Linked DNA regions of Homo sapiens: all the other regions are linked to region 1. Evidence: promoter capture Hi-C in human tissues and cell types (Jung and others, 2019). All regions are on one chromosome and are shown on one strand. Each heading gives the region's core, a stretch centred on a gene start or on the middle of the fragment in contact. The rest is flanking DNA. Distances are from core to core; before and after follow the strand shown. Region 1 holds the start of FAM20A (FAM20A golgi associated secretory pathway pseudokinase). Region 2 has its middle 98 kb from the start of LINC01482. Region 3 has its middle 15 kb from the start of PRKAR1A. Region 4 has its middle 71 kb from the start of LINC01482.

Evidence for each region. Contacts are between HindIII fragments. The study calls those that stand out against the background at their distance.
Region 2: a contact is called between a fragment that was not itself captured here and the fragment with the promoter of FAM20A in region 1, in 2 of the 25 tissues and cell types used here (mesendoderm cells and thymus).
Region 3: a fragment that was not itself captured here is called in contact with the fragment with the promoter of FAM20A in region 1 in 2 of the 25 tissues and cell types used here (mesendoderm cells and thymus).
Region 4: a contact is called between a fragment that was not itself captured here and the fragment with the promoter of FAM20A in region 1, in 3 of the 25 tissues and cell types used here (H1 embryonic stem cells, mesendoderm cells and thymus).

What each region holds. Positions count from the first base shown.
Region 1 is chr17:68,600,057-68,602,702 of GRCh38, forward strand. It overlaps FAM20A (FAM20A golgi associated secretory pathway pseudokinase), which reads right to left and starts at 1,311. Exons shown (of 11, transcript NM_017565.4): 1 at 207-1,311. The coding sequence starts at 610. The HindIII fragment of the contact is 4,098 bases long and covers 1-1,831 here.
Region 2 is chr17:68,725,325-68,727,970 of GRCh38, forward strand. No RefSeq gene overlaps it. Among named protein-coding and RNA genes, the nearest start is that of LINC01482, 98 kb to the left of the region's middle. The HindIII fragment of the contact is 3,719 bases long and covers 1-2,646 here.
Region 3 is chr17:68,496,364-68,499,009 of GRCh38, forward strand. It overlaps a transcript of PRKAR1A not described here. Among named protein-coding and RNA genes, the nearest start is that of PRKAR1A, 15 kb to the right of the region's middle. RefSeq lists a silencer at 2,184-2,367. The HindIII fragment of the contact is 5,296 bases long and covers 1-2,646 here.
Region 4 is chr17:68,697,525-68,700,170 of GRCh38, forward strand. No RefSeq gene overlaps it. Among named protein-coding and RNA genes, the nearest start is that of LINC01482, 71 kb to the left of the region's middle. The HindIII fragment of the contact is 3,203 bases long and covers 1-2,646 here.

The DNA.
Region 1 (2,646 bases), core at 61-2,560:
CTATCTGACTCCGGGACTGGACTGTGAGGTCTGCAACAGCTGGTGGGGTTCGGGTGGGGAACACACTCTAAGCCCAGCGCCAGGGCTGGAGCCGTGGGTGGAGCCGCTGCAGCCCTGGGCCGGGGGCGTCAGGAAACTCGAGACTGGGGCGCGGGGAGGCCCCGGCCAGAGCGCCCGCTCTCCCGCGTCCCGGGCGGGGTCCTCACCTGTTCCAGCGGGCCACCTTCCTCCGGTAATACCGCAGCGCCTCCTGGCTGGCCAGGAGCGAGTCCTCGGCTCCCAGGAGAGGCGGCTCCTCCGGGACGTTGTACAGCGGGTGGGCGAAGAGGGCCTGCAACTTGGAGCTCGACCCGCTGTGGCTGCCGCCAGCCGGTTCAGTCCGGGGCTCGGTTCGGGAAAAGTTGTGCACGATCGTGCCGGGGTCCGAGGCAGCTGCGGCCGAGTCCCGCGCCAGGGAGGAGGCGCGGCCGGTGCACGGGCACCCCCGCGGGCGCTCCCGAGGCCGCAGCTGGCGCTGTACTTGGGGCCAGAGGTGGAAGTAGAGGTCGGCGGAGAGCAGCGCGCCCAGCAGCAGCAGAGTCAGTAGGCGGTCCCGGCGCAGCCCCGGCATGGCGTGCTGGCCAAGGGGGACGCCGGGGGCAGGCCGGCTGTCTCCGGGGTCCCGGGAGGGGTCGCGGGGTGCGGGCAGAAGAGGTGCCTGGAGTCCCGCGGGTGGGCCGGGGTCAGTGAGACCGGAATGCTCCCCGCGCGGGCTAGTCCCCTGTGGAGGGGTGTCGCTCCTCAACTTGGGGACCAGGTGCACGGAGCACCGGGGCTCTCGGAGTCAGCGGGCGTCGCTTCTCCGCGCCGAGTGAGCCGAGGGAATGGGGTTCCCGGGGTGCCCGCTTCTTGCGCCTTTTCTCCCGTGCGCCCGCCCGCCCGGACGCTCGCGGCAGGTGAAGGGCCCCGGGGCGCCGGCGCCGGCTGCCACCGCGGGCGGACGGGCGACGGGGCGGGGGGCGACCGCGGAGGGCGGACGGAGGCCGCCGGCTGCAAAGCCCGGGGCGTCTCTCCTGAGGATGCTGTCGCTCGGCGGCGGCTGCTAGTGCTCCCGCGACTCCTCCTGCGGGCGGCGGAGACGCCAGTGCCGGCGGCTGGCACGGGCGGCGCGAGTGGGGAGTTGGCGAAGCAGGAGCGGCTCCGGGGAGCTTGTCTGTGCGCCTGGACTCCTAGAGGCAGAGGTAGCGCGGGGCCTCCCCGAGCCTGGCCTGGCGCCGGCACCCCCACCCACTCTCCGCTGGCACCTGCCTCTGGCGCAGCTGACGGCCAACTCCCGATCCGAAGCCGGCGCTGCCCTTGCACCTTGTCACCCACCCACTGCCTGCGCCCTCCCCCTCGCTCGGGCCTCCCACTTTCCCTGCCCAGGTCTCAATCCAGTCACTTTAAGGGACTCACGCGAGGGGTCCGAAGCCTCTTTTTACCATTTCTATTATTTTTAGGGAAAAAAAAACCACCACAAGCCCCCTAAAACCCTTTTTTTCCTGTAAGCTTTGCCAAATGAGTGTGTGGGGGGGGGTGGGGGGAGGCGGGGGTGGCAGTGTTGGTATCTGTTCTTTCTTTGTGTTCCCTTCCACCTCCGCCCCCCTGCAGAGCGCAGGGCACATCAAGATTCATAACAACTACCTACCACATGCCTGGCACATAGTAGGTGCTCAGGAAACACGCTCTTGGTGAAGGAAAGAGCTTGACCTTTAAAAGTAAGGTATCAGTTTTACCTAGAATCTTGCTGATTTCCTGTTTGGAAGGAGTTTGATTCCAACTCTGCCTGTACTTTAAAAAGAGGAAATGTTTCTTGCACTCAGGGAGGGAGGGGCCCTGATGACCCCACTCCGAACTTTTGAGTTTAGCTTGGTGTGAAAGTAGTCCACCCAAATGAATCACTGGAGGACACATTTAGGCTTTCTCCAATATTCTGTGAGGTAATGTACCCTCCCCACACCCAGTTTTCCTTTTGAAGAAGAGGGAGGGAGTCCTGAACTCCTGGCTCCTCTATTTAATGACCCCATAGTATAGTAAAGTGAAGTCTGATTGGAGAGGCGGCCCCACCCTGCTGAATTTCAGGAAATCCACCAGAAGCTGCTTGCCCAGGCAGCAAAGCTTCCCATGTAAGTTAGTTCTACTCTTTAACCCCCTCCCTTCCCTTGCTGGAATTGAGAACCCTCAGACATACTTTGACTTGTGGGTTCAGACCAGAGTTCTTTTCCCCGTGGTTCAGTGTAAGATTTCTTCGGGACTTTGCAGTCTCCTCAAATGTAAATGAAGATAATGATGGAACCTACCTCCTAAGGTTATTATGAGACTTAAATGAATTGAAGTACAATTATGTGTCACGTCTGAGAAATGCATCCTTAGGCAATTTTCCTGTGTGTGTGAACATCAGGGTGTACTTACACAAACCTAGATGGTTCAGCCTACTACACACGGAGGCTACATGGCATAGCCTGTTGATCCTAGGTACAAACCTGTACAGCATGCGACTACTGAATGCTGTAGGGAGTTGTAACACAGTGGTGAGTACTTGTGTGTCTAAACATAGGAAACATACAGTAAAAATACAGTATTGTAATCTTATGGGACCACTGTTGCATTGACTAAAATGTTATGTGG
Region 2 (2,646 bases), core at 96-2,595, 130 kb after region 1:
CAGGTTGCTAATGACTAGCTGAGCCAGACACACAACAACCAGGCTCTTCTCTCTCCAGTGATCTTGTGGTTCATTTCTCCCACCTTACCCATTCATTCTTCCCCCTCAACATACTCTTGGAATGACTGTATTTTTCTCGTTGTGTTTATGCTGATTACATATTTGTTGGTCTTGTCTCCCATACGCCCTCTTTACAGGGTGGGGACAGGCTTGTTCCCCACCATCCATTATCTAGAGTGCCTACTTACAGAGCTTCATTTCCCGAGGGAGTGCAGTAAAGGCTTGTTTATCAACTGCTGGATTCCTCAGAATGCTCTCTCTTCTACTATGGGAGCTTTTCTGATTAAACCCTCATTCAGGTCTGGTAAAGTCAGTTCGGGTCAATACCATTCACAATTCATAAGTTCCTCCTATGACTGAAGCACAGGGCTAAGACCTTTAAGCAAAGAAGATACAGTCTGTGCCTTCCAAAGCCTTTGAAGCAAGAGGAGGCATTATCAGTTCAGCAGCTTTCAGCCTTGCTGTTAACACATTCTGGTGGGCTCTATCAGTTGTGAGACATGTCATCAGCAGTTTGTTACAAATAATAGTTAAAGTGCTGAATAAAATGCACTAATAAAAATAAATCTAGCTAGGTGCGGTGGCTCATGCCTGTAATCCCAGCACTTAGGGAGGCTGAGGTGGGAGGATCACTTGAGCTCAGGAGTTGGAGAACAGCCTGGGCAACATGGTGAAATCCCGTCTCTACACAAAATTCAAAAATTAGCTAGGCATGGTGGTGTGCATCTGTAGTCTGAGCTACTTGGGAGGCTGAGTTGGGAGGATCACTTGAGCCCAGGAGATCGAGGCTGCATGAAATGAGATGGCACTACTGCGCTCCAGCCTGGGCAACAAAGAGAGACCCTGTCTCAAAAAAATAAAAACAAAACAAAATAAAAAAAAATTGAAAAGTAAATCTAAGTGGATTCAGGGTTATTTTGACTATAACCCTTCATAATTTTTCTAGCATTATTTATGTGTGTGAAACTCACATAAATATGTAGTTTCCAACTTAAATTTTTTTTCCTGATGCACATGTCCCCCATACCCCTGTGAATCTATATAAGGAGTGCTTGCTTCATTTCAGCTGAGACATAAGGTGTGGTGATGTATGTGTGCCAACCAGCTTACCAGCTCTGGCTTTGTGCCTCTCATCTGTGTTAGGAAGCTTATCTGAATGCAAGTCATCAGTGGTGAAATTATTACAAATGTCATCTTTTAGGGGGAGAGGAGGATAAATTCTGATGAGGAAAGAAATAGAAGGCTAAGTTTCCTGGGTGGGGCAAATCTCAGCTGGGCCTTGAAAAGTAGGTGGAATGTTGTCAGAGCTCTGGAGTATAGGGGTCAGCAGTAATAAGAAGGTTTGGGCCATGCAGAAAAGGACTTCGATAAAATTCAACATCCATTCATGTTAAAACAAACAAACAAACAAAACCCCTCAATAAACTAGGCACTGAAGAAACATACTTCAAAGTAATAAGAGCCATCTCTGACAAACCCACAGCCAACATCGTACCGAATGGGCAAAAGCTGGAAGCATTCCCCTTGAAAACCAGCACAAGACAAGGATGCCCTGTCTCACCACTCCTATTCAACATAGTATTGGAAGTCCTGGCCAGAGCAATTAGGCAAGAGAAGGAAACAAACGGCATCCAAATAGGAAGAGAGGAAGTAGAACTATCCCTGTTTGTAGATGACATGATTCTATATCTAGAAAACCCTGGCTGGGTGTGGTAGCTCATGCCTGTAATCCCAGCACTTTGGGAGGCTGAGGTGGGCAGATCACCTGAGGTCGGGAGTTCGAGACCAGCCTGACCAACATGGAGAAACCCTGTCTCTACTAAAAATACAAAATTAGCCAGGCGTGGGGCGCATGCCTGTAATCCCAGCTACTTGGGAGGCTGAGGCAGGAGAATCGCTTGAACCCAGGAGGCAGAGGTTGCAGTGAGCCGAGATCAGGCCACTGCACTCTAAGAAAACCCCATAACCCCATAGTCTCTGTCCAAAAGCTCCTTGATCTGATAAACTACTTCAGCAAAAGTTCAGGATACAAAATTGACAAACAAAAATCAATTGCGTTCTTATACACTAGCAACATCCCAGCTGAGAGCCAAATCAGGAGCACAATCCCATTTACAATTGCCTATGAAAAGAGTAAAATATCTCAGAATACAGCTAACCAGGGAGGTGAAAGAGCTCTATAATGAGAATTACAAAACACTGCTCAAAAAAATCAGAGATGGCACAAGTAAATGGAAAACATTTCATGCTTATGGACAGGAGGAATCAGTGTTGTTAAAAAGGTCATACTTCCCAAAGCCGTTTACAGATTTAATTCTATTTCTAACAAACTGCCAATGACATTCTTTATAGAACTAGAAAAAAGCTATTTTAAAATTCACATGAAACTGCAAAAGAGCTCAAATAGAAATGGCAATTCTAAGCAAAAAGAACAAAGCTGGAGGCATCATGTTACTCAACTTCAAACTATGCTACAGGGCTACCGTAACCAAAACAGCATGGTACTGGTACAGAAACAAACAGACCAATGGAACAGAATAGAGAGCCCAGGAATAAGGCCACACACCTACTATCATCTGATCTTTG
Region 3 (2,646 bases), core at 94-2,593, 100 kb before region 1:
CAATGGCCAGATGAGTCTTCCTAATGCTGCATCACTCTGATACTAGCTTTCTATCTTCCTCTTCCACATGGAAGGACCCTTGTGATTACACCGGCCACGTCCAGATAATCCAGGACAATCTCTGTATTTTAAGATCATCTGATTAGTAACCTTAAATTCATCTACAATATTAATTCCCATTTGCCATGTACTGTAACACTTCAACATGTTTTTGGGCAGTAGGACGTGGACGTTCTTGCAGGGGTCATCATTTGGCTGACTGCAGTCTGTGAGCTCCTATGGTAAAAAGGCTGTGAACTATGTATCACTCTCCTCGAATGTAGAACAGAAGTCTGCTATGTAGTATATGAGGAAGACATGATATTTGTTCAAATGGAGTTTATATTCTAAAAGAAGGGGTCAACAAATTTGGATCTATCACCTGTTTTTGTACAGCTCTTAAGCTTAGTTTTTACTTTTTTTTTTTTTTTTTTTTTTTTTGAGACAGGGTCTCACTTTGTCACCCAGGCTAGAGTGCAGTGGTGCAAACACAGCTTACTGCACTTGACCTCCTGGGCCCAAGTGATCCTCCTGCCTCAGCCCCACAAATAGCTGGGACTATAGGCACACACCACCATGTCTGGCCCATTTTTGTATTTTTTGTGGAGACAGGGTTTTGCCATGCTGCTCAGGCTGGTCTCGAACTCCTGAGCTCAAGTGATCTGCCTGCCCAGGCCTCCCAAATTTCTGGGATTACAGGCGTGAGCCACTGTGCCTGGCTGTATATTTTTCAGTGGCTAAACAAGCTCGAATGGAGAATGATATTTTGTGACATAAAAATTAGATGAAATTTACTTTAAAGTGTCCATAAGTCAACTTTTATTGGAACACAGCCATGCCCATTCATTTATTTGTTGTCTATGCTGCTTTCACACTATAGTGGTGAAGGTGAGTGGTTGCAACAAAGACCTTATGGCCACAAAGTCTAAAATAATTACCTATTTGACCGTTGACAGAAAAAAAATTGCTAGTCCCCGTTCTAGAGGGAACTTTAGAACTTTCTGTGATTGTGGGAATATGCTGTATCTGGGCTGTCCAATATGGTAGTCACTAGCTACAGCTGGCACTTGAAATGAGGCTAGTACCCCTAAGGAAAAGACTTTTAAGCTTTATTTGATTATAATTAATTTAGATTTGAAGAGCTCCCTGTGGCTAGTGGCTACTGTACTGACAGCCCTAGGAGATGAGATGATAATTATGAAGATGCTGATAAAAATGTGATAATTTACCATGTGCCAAGTGCCGTGCTAAGAGAACAAGGATGATGCTCTTATGATTCTCATTTTACAGATGAAAAAAAACTGAAGCTTAGATGGATCAAGTATGTTGCCCAAGGTTACACAGCCAGAGAGGGGCAAGCTAGAACCCAGGGAGGTTGACTCCTGAGCTGTTGCTCTAACCATTAGGCTATGCTGCCTCACGAAAGACAAGACACATAGACATTGAATTGTAACATGTGAGAGAATATAATGAGTGCTATGAAAGAAGCAACAACAAGGCAGAGAAATAATTAAGGGGAAAAACTTCTGACCAGGGAGGGAAAAGACACCTTCTTCATGGGTGCCAAACTACTTAAGATGGGCTCTAAAATTTGGGCAGGATTTTGATTGACACTTACATGCTTGTAAGCTAGATGGATGCAACCACCTAAACACAGGTGTGATGGGGGAAGTAAAGGGGGGGTTAAGGGATTGGAAAGCAGTCCACTTTGAAAATTCATGCCACACCTTTGCTAGCAAAGGGCCACAAGTTTTCTTGGCAGCTGGTGCACTTCCTCTTTTCTCTCCGTAACGACCATGTAAATGACCTTGCCTTCGTTTTCACTTTGACTGGAAGTTTAGCTTCAAACTTGAGCTTAACTTGAGCAAGAGCAAGGAACCACACAGCTTGAATATTTGAGTTTCTTCTCCTTTCCTCCCCAAAAGCTCAATTTCTGCTCTGATGAGTGTTTTCTCTGGTCTTAATATTTGTTTTTATCCATATTTTAACATCATTTCATTACGTATTTATTTCTTGCAATGCCCCTGGGTCGTTTTGTGAATACGTGTGGGTATAAATGACAGAATAGGTTCTGGTTGTGGGAGGATGTGAACCCAGGGAGATAAATTGGAAAAGATAAGTTGGTGTCAGGCACTGGGTACAGTCAGGGTCAAGGAAGCTGGTGGGTGCTCCTGCCTTTGAGAAATAGCCTGAGCCAGTTAGGTGCCATCCCCATGCCCTTATCTCCTGCAGCCTTGGCTGCAATCCTGGCAGCTCCCCACTCAGTTCTTGGAAACCTGGCAATTGGCCCTAGTTCCATCCCACGCCACTGCCCGCTTGCTTCCTGTGCTGGCTCTGATGTCTGTTGACATCTTCTTCGAGTGTTAACTCCCAAACATCCTCAGTTTCAGTCTTGTTATTGGCATCAGGGGACACACTGGCATCCTACAATCTCTCTAAAGTACAGGCCAATCAGATCCCTCTCCTCTTTAAAGGTCTTCTGTAGCTCTCAGGTGGAAGTCCAAGTTCAGTAGCTTTGCTTAGGGTCCTCGTTCACACCCCAGCTCTGCCTCTTCCTCACTACATGACTTGGGCAAGTTGTGTAACTTCTGTATGCCGGAGTTTCCT
Region 4 (2,646 bases), core at 95-2,594, 98 kb after region 1:
TCAACTTCCTCTTAAAGGACCAGGTATCAAATATTGTAGGCATTGTGGGCCATGTGGTCTCTGTTGCAATTATACAACACAGCTGTTGGAACACAAAAGTAACAATATGTGAATGAGTAGGCATGGCTGTGTTTCAATAAAACTTTACATATGAACACTAACATTTGACTTCCATATAATTTCCATGTGTCAAAAAAAAACTGTTCATTTGATTTATTTGTCAACCATCTAAAAATGGAAAACCATTCTTCACTCACAAACCATACAAAGTGGTAGAACAAATTTGGCCTGTGGGCTGTAGTTTGCTGACTCCTGTCTTAGGGGATGCCTCAGTGCACCTCCTGTTGTAAGGAGATTGGAGCTAGTTTCCAAGATAGAAATGAGTAATTTTGAAGTTTCCCCAGCAATTTCAAAATCCATTTTCAGGCTAGATAACTGGTCCATGATAAGTCTGAAAAGAAACAAGCCTGGACTTGCCTGCCTAACTCCATTATGAAATCTGTGGCTTCCAGGGACCTTGAAGTCTTCCAGGTCATATTCTAGACTTTATGACCACATTTAAACCAACTTAGGGATACACAGCCCCTGTCTGTTAGAGGAAAACATACCTTAACTCCTAGAGTAAACAATTTCATCCTCATGTCCCTTAAGCACTCATTTTCACACTGGCCAGCTTTCAGGGGTGTGATGCAATCTGACTTCCTAATGTTGTGGATGAGTAGTGTAATGTAATGTAATGTAATGATGTAATGTAATGGAGAGAGTTGTTTATTCCCCTACACATATGCACCAAAGGGGTAAATAATGGCGACTCTCCATTTCTGGGTTTTATTTGACATTTTCCTCTACTGGGCCAGCTATGACCTTAGGTGTGGATCATTTCCTTTTCCCTAGATGGAAGGAGCTGATGTTATGGAGAACGGGGGTGGTGTTTGCTGATGTGGTTCCTGAATGTTTCCAGCAGCCCAGAGTGAAGCACCACTATAACAGAATTTAAAAATAGAGAATAAAGTAAGCTTAATGTAGCAGTTTTCTCAAGACACCAGAGTAGGCATTTAAAAAATAACTCAGGATGATTCTTTCTGGAGTCTGCCAAGGCGCTGAATTCTGAGACCATGGTGGGATTCTGATATTTAAAAAAATGTTCGTTGGTGGGGGTGGGGAGGTGATGGACTGGCATAGTTTAGTGCAGTATCTTGTATCTAGTAGGCTCTCCATAAAGGTTTACTATACAAATGAAGGGGGTGAGGGTTTAGGAGAGCATTTTGTCTGAACAGGAATTCTGGTTTCCTTCCAGCTGAACTGCCTCTTGGGTTGCCTCTCAGGTCTTTGTAGAAACATATGACATTCTGAGGAGTGGAGAGAAGTTCCCCTTTGGATCCCAGGCAATTGGCACGTCAAATCCAGTCTTACTTTTATGACACCAGAGTCCACACGGCTTCCTGTTTCTAACAGCTGCTACTGGCTCAGCATTATCTCAAAAGAGGAATCCAGCTTCCTTGGTTTTTGCCAAAGCCCAAATCAATAAGCATCTGCTTTCTGCTGCATTTGCAATTGGCCCTACTGGCAGCAGGGAATGTTGAGCACGTAGAAGCCATGAGCCCCCACCTAGCTCAGGACTTGTTCTGGATTGTAGAGACTGTTCCTTTGTAGGGGAGAAGGAACTGGGGGTTCGGAGGGGTGGGAGAAGTGGAGGCTGGGGCTCTGTGTTGCCCTGTTTCCTTGTGAGATAACTAGGAAGTCTGGGCAATTTTTAAGTTCCCATCATTAATTACAATTTTGTTTTTTTTGCTGGGGGGAGTGGGCGGAGAAGGAGGGGAAGTTGGAAAGGGGTTGCTCTCTGGAAGTTATGAGACCCTGGAAAGAGAGAAGACATATTCAAAGAAAATTGAGACAAATTTTTTTTTTTTTTTTTTTTTTTGAGGCGGAGTCTCGCTCTGTCCCCTGGGCTGGAGTGCAGTGGCACCATCTTGGCTCACTGCAAGCTCTGCCTCCCAGGTTCACACCATTCTCCTGCCTCAGCTTCCTGAGTAGCTGGGACTACAGGTGCCTGCCACCACACCCGGCTAATTTTTTGTATTTTTAGTAGAGATGGGGTTTCACCATGTTAGCCAGGATGGTCTCGATCTTCTGACCTCGTGATCCGCCCACCTCAGCCTCCCAAAGTACTGGGATTACAGGCATGAGCCACTGCGCCTAGCCAAATTGAGACAAATTCTAAAGATTGTTTATAACCTCAAAATTAGTTCCATGCCCTTGATGCCAGAAGCATTTCTCCTCTGGTACAGAAAAGGCAAGTTTGCATGTTGACATTAGACTCTAGTCTCTTTAAGGTAAAATTCAGGTTCTACTGATCTTTGAAGCCTTGGCATCCAGCATGAAGCATGACATAGAGTAGGTGCTTAATACTTGTAGGTGACAGAGTGAACATCAGATGAGCAAGCAGAATACATGCTGAGCACCATCAGCTTTTCTGGATATGTGGGAAATTTAATCTTTTCTCAATACGATCCCAGCCTTTCTCTACCCAGAGACAAGCTGTTATCTGCAAAAAGTAGCAGAATTACATTCAACATCCAGACCTGCGATAGTGGCTTGAAAAGGTGTGCGACGTGTTGAATTTCAATCCCTTTGCTGAAAATAAAT